2 separate regions of the Homo sapiens genome follow, and region 1 is linked to region 2. The links are contacts of gene promoters, found by promoter capture Hi-C in blood cells and fetal thymus (Javierre and others, 2016). All regions are on one chromosome and are shown on one strand. Each heading gives the region's core, a stretch centred on a gene start or on the middle of the fragment in contact. The rest is flanking DNA. Distances are from core to core; before and after follow the strand shown.

Evidence for each region. The method cuts DNA at HindIII sites, captures the fragments that hold promoters and counts their contacts. A CHiCAGO score of 5 or more calls a contact.
Region 1: a fragment that was not itself captured here is called in contact with the fragment with the promoter of PLA2G4F in region 2 in 1 of 17 cell types (endothelial precursors); the score reaches 6.3 in endothelial precursors.

What each region holds. Positions count from the first base shown.
Region 1 is chr15:42,365,794-42,368,556 of GRCh38, reverse strand. The region is part of intron 1 of CAPN3 (calpain 3); the gene reads right to left. Among named protein-coding and RNA genes, the nearest start is that of CAPN3, 7.7 kb to the right of the region's middle. The HindIII fragment of the contact is 2,326 bases long and covers 133-2,458 here.
Region 2 is chr15:42,155,340-42,158,039 of GRCh38, reverse strand. It overlaps PLA2G4F (phospholipase A2 group IVF), which reads left to right and starts at 1,404. Exons shown (of 20, transcript NM_213600.4): 1 at 1,404-1,601; 2 at 2,451-2,523. The coding sequence starts at 1,491. RefSeq lists an enhancer at 964-1,679. The HindIII fragment of the contact is 5,494 bases long and covers 1-2,700 here.

The DNA of each region.
Region 1 (2,763 bases), core at 46-2,545, 210 kb before region 2:
CCTTATTTTATGATGTTTCTGCTTAAAGACACCTTATTTAATATTGATTCATTAAATTATTGTTTATTGATTGATGATTCAATAACATTGAACTCACAGCCAACTGACTATAACTTGTGTGTGAACAAAGCTTATCTGACACACGTATTTCCTCCATGAGGCACACCACAGCCTCCTAGAATGCTAGACAGCATTTCAGCACTATGCTTGGAGGTCACCAATAAAAAGCACAGAAATGAGAAAAACATGGCACTAAAGACGTCATGAAAAGGACATTCTTTACAGTATCAAAGCTGAAACAAGAAGGCTGAGTGTTGCCTTGTTTGACCTGAGCTGGGAACAGGCATGTGGGGTGACTCAGATTTTTCACAGCTCTGTGTATGCCCACAAATGACTGCAAAAACACCTCAAGTACTAATTTTGAGGAGACAAACCTTAGCGAGTAGGTGAATTTGCAAATATGGCATCTGCAAATAACAAGGATTGGCTGTGTAAGGTTTATAGCACTGACGTCCTCCATGTTGGAAAAGCCATGCCTATGGCATAAAGTTGGAACACTTTTGTGACTGATCTGAATTAACTAAAAGAGGGATGACATGATTCAAAAACAGGATATGCCTGTAGTCCCAGCTACTCAGAGTCTGAGGCAGGAGGATCACTTAAACCCAGGAGTTCAAGTCCAGTGTGGACAACATAGTGAGACTCCTATCTCTGTTTAAAAAAAAGAGAGAAAAAAATAGGGAGGGTTACCATACAGGGAAAATCAGCTGACTCTATTTCACTGTCTTTTGGGTCACAGCCAGAGAAAATATATTACATTTGCACCTGGAAACATTCTAGTTAGAAATAAGGATGAGTGTTCAGACTGTGAAAGTTACAAGCTGTAGGTTACTCAAGGAGATGGAGCCATCCTTTTCTCTTTAAAACCTTTATATCAGGAAAGAAAGCCATCCATCTGGAAAGGCTGAAAGTAGTTCCCATTTTTGGTCCTATATCTCTGGGGTATTTTAAAAATAGCAGCTTTTATACTATATTTCTGGTGTTCTGGAGTATATAATACACTTCTGAAAGTTCTGATGGTGATTGTTTAAACTTGAAGATTGAATGAAAATGGAAAAGTACGTGTCAGCTCCTCTTCAGCAGAATGCCACCCAGTGTTAGCTGAGGCACCAGGCTTCCTTGTGAATTGTCTTGAACACCACTCCATAGCCTCTGAGAGGGCAGAGCCTCCTCACTCCCACCACAGTTCAGCCGGTTCCTAGCAGCTCCTTTCTGTGTGCTTCTCTCTCCCCACACTCCTGTGCTTTCCACACTCTGAGTGTTGGCTCACCCCTGCTTGTGTAAACCAAAATAGGAACCTCCACCCTCTACCAAGTCACTTGCCTCAGAAGTTTCACAAGCACTCGGAAAGAATTCTGTGAGGGAGGCCGGGTGCAGAGCCTCATGCCTATAATCCCAGCACTTTGGGAGGCTGAGGCGGTGGATCACTGGGGTCAGGAGTTTGAGACCAGCCTAGTCAATATGGTGAAACCCCATCTCTACTAAAAATACAAAAATTAGCCAGGCATGGTGGCGCATGCCTGTAGTCCCAGCAACTAGAGAGGCCAAGGTGGGAGGATTGGTTGAACCTGGGAGGTGGAGGTTGCAGTGAGCTGAGCTGGAGACACTGCACTCCAGCCTGGGCAACAGAGCGAGACCCTGTCTCAAAAAAAAAAAGAAAAAAAAAAAGAAAAAAAAGAATTCTGTGAGGGTCGGGTCGTGGAGAGGAAGAACACCAGGTTAGGGGTCGTCACAAGCCCTGTTGCTTCCTCCACTCCATTTTCCTTTCAGTTCTAGCTCTCCTCCCTCTTGTAAGTAAACGGGCAGGTGTTTTTCTTTCTTTTCTTCCTCGAAAACAATCATACTTAATTCTCCTTCCCCCACCCCAGAGATTATTGTAATTCTGTAATTATAATAATCTTTCTGATTTTTTCTTACAGGTTTTCCTCGAGAAGAGAGAAGATGTTTCTGCCATGTTAAGGGTTCAGAAAGTGAGCACATTTGGCGAAATAAATTTAAAGACTTGACAATAATTCCACAGTAGTAAGAAGATCTACCCTGAAGAATGTCATACTTTTTTTTCTCCTGGTGTAACAGCCCTGGCACAAGGAAGAAGTTGGTTCTGCCTGGATGATGAGGACCTTGGGAAGGGGCAAGAGACCAGGTCATACAGAAAGCAGCAAAAACCAGCCGGTGTGGCTGGGTCCATGTCGATAGACAGCACGGAAGAAAGAAAGAGCCTGGGAAAAGGAATAGGTTGGGGATGGCAGGGTTGTGAGTTAGATGGGAAGGGACTCTTTGTCTTATTTTTCCATTCTGAATGCTTTTCTCCCTCACGTTTTACATTTCACAATTTCCCTCACATTTCTGAATTTCTCTCACATCTCTGAAACTGTGATGCAACTTACATTAGAAAGCTTCCTTCTACTGCACTCAGCTGGGTGATGGTCATGACCTTCCATGGACACCCTCTGATAAGATCAAGAAAGTACTAGTATTGAGAATCTTCTAGACTTGGGAAAATAAGGTTCATGATGAATTATAGCTTGGGAAACTTATCTAAACTCTATTCTTAAAATAAGCCTAATTCAAGAGATTTCTGTGTACCAGAATACAAGGAATAAAGTCATCTATTCAGAGGACTAAGAGGCTGCTGCCGTCTGTCTGGGAAAGAGGTGTCCACAGGTCCAGGTGTTGGTGGAGGGCACTAGCTGGCCCCAGGAG
Region 2 (2,700 bases), core at 155-2,654:
AGGCCCTTCTTTGGGGCCTGGTCACTGGCAGTCACACATTCCTTTTTTGGGGGGAGTTTCTGGTCTGAACTTGCCCATTCGGTTCATTTTGGAGTTGAATCACATCTTTTTTGGATGTTGTATTTTTCAGCCTGTGACTCTAGGCCTTGGGAAGAGTGGAGATGACTGAATCTTAGTTGAGGGACAGAAATTCTCTCCCTCCCACAGTTCACGGCCCCCGAGATCCTCACTCTTCCTGGAGACTGTGCCTGTCTCAGCCACCTTGATGGTTGTGGTCCACAGAAGAGCGAACATCACATCCATCTGCAGCCTAAGGCCTACGATGGCCAAAGAGAATGCTAAAGCCTGTATATCTGGTCGCTGAAGGATACGTAGACTTGTTGTTTGGCCTGTCCTTATTTATAACCCCCTGCCCATATGCCTGTCTGTACCTGGACACTGTACACTGACCCAGGAAGCGAGCCTGGGCCAAAGCCACAGGGAGTCATGAGACTGAATTTCTCCAGGATGTGGATGGGCCCGCCTCACCTCTGTCACCTTTGCGTTTCTGGGCCTAGCACAGGTCTGGCACCCACCAGGCTCTTGGTGTTTGGCGAATTAATGAGGGTGGTCAGGAGAGATTAAAAACATCTTTGATGAGTTCATGTCCTTTGTAGGGACATGGATGAAGCTGGAAACCATCATTCTGAGCAAACTATCGCAAGGACAGAAAACCAAACACCACATGTTCTCACTCATAGGTGGGAATTGAACAATGAGAACACTTAGACACAGGGCGGGGAACATCACACACCGGGGCATGTCGGGGGGCAGGGGGCATGGGGGAGGGATAGCATTAGGAGAAATACCTAATGTAAATGACGAGTTAATGGGTGCAGCACACCAATATGGCACATGTATACACATGTAACAAACCTGCACGTTGTGCACATGTACCGTAGAACTTAAAGTATAATTAGAAAATATATATAAAGAGAGAAACATCTTTGATCCCAGATGAAACACTGAAGCAGAGATTTCTAGGCTTCAGCTTAAGAGCCGCAGGGAAGGTGGGACTTGAAGGGTGGCTAGTTTCAGGCCTTTTCCACAGCTGGAGGAGACTCTTCCCTGATTTGCACTTGCCAGCTGGTCTCTGGGCCAGCTGTGCCAGCTTCACCTAGAGGTCTTGTTGGAAATAGCTCCGGTGTCTATTTTTCACAAACAGCCCAGTGATAACCAGGGCGCTGGGTTTGGGAACAAGAGTGCTAACCAGAGACCCCAAGAGTCTCTTGGAGAGGGACTGAGCTGCCTCCTGCCTGGGGAAATTAAGCTCCAGTCACTTCCTGGAGCATGTCAAACTCCACCTCCAGCAGGCCATCCAGCCTGAGTTCTCTGCAGAGCAGGCAGCTCCACCCTCCCAACTCAGTGCTGCCTGTCACACCTGAGCCAGCAGTTTGTGCAACCAGAGGAGCGCAGGCAGGGTTCCCTGCTGGGGCCCGGGCTGCCCAGCCATGCTTTGGGCACTCTGGCCAAGGTGGCTGGCAGACAAGATGCTGCCCCTCCTGGGGGCAGTGCTGCTTCAGAAGAGAGAGAAGAGGGGCCCTCTGTGGAGGCACTGGCGGGTAACGTACCTGAGATTACCTGGGAAACCCGGACTGGGGGAGTCCTGGGAGCTGCAGTGCCCTGTGAAGACTGAGACCAGCCCCAGCCCTGGGTTTTGAGTTGGGGTGGGACCTGTTTATTCTAGATGACCTGGCAGAGCTTAAATTAGACCTTGGCTCTTAAAAATAGCTCCCTCCGATTAGGAAATGGAGGGTTAGTTCACTTGACACTTGTCTGGGGTGGGTTGGCTTTCACCAAGGATGCGCGAGCCTGGCTGTAGAGTCCACGGAGCTGGTGGGGTTGTGAGGGGAGAGTTTCCCTCCCAGTAGGCAGCATGCTGATGTTATCTCTCCTAAGCCCAGCTGCAATCTGCTCGGTGACTCGTCAGACCGGTACCGGCCGGCCGGTGACTCTCGGCTTCCGCTCACCTGCTCGCTGCCTCCTAGACGGTCTTTGAGCCTCTGTCAGGGAGCAAGCAAGGGAGGGGGTGTCACAGTTTTCTCTTTTAATATTTAATCTTCTCAAGCACAACATTAGCACAGCTCTCACAGCTGCTCCCAAGCTAGAGTGGGGGCGCGAGCGTCTGAGGGGAGCTGCAGGTGTGTGGTGCGTGACAGCCATCGTTAGTTCAGTGAGTCCGTGCTGGATTTAGATTTGAACCCAGACCGGATGGGTTCCAGGGTCCAGACACATCACGAAGGTGCTGAACTCCCAATGCCTGGGACCCGCCAAGGTCTCCCTGCTCCCCGGCACAGAGACGTCAGTGACCCTATGCCAGGTTGCTGCTCCATGATGGGACGAGGGGAACAATGGGGCGAGGGACCAGGCTCACACTAGCTGACTGAGTCCCTGGAGTTCTGTTATTGCAGCGGGAAACCTACCCATACTATGACCTCCAGGTGAAGGTGCTGAGGGCCACAAACATCCGGGGCACAGACCTGCGTGAGTGACCCCATCTCCATCCTTCTCTCTGTCCTTTCCCTGCGGCTTCCTCAGAGCTCAGCTCAGGCTGGCTAACAGAGAGTGTGTGTGTGTAAGAGTATACATGGGTGAGTACAAGTGAGAGTGCATGTGTGTATACATGTGTGAGTATACGTGTAGGCATCTGTGCAAGTATGT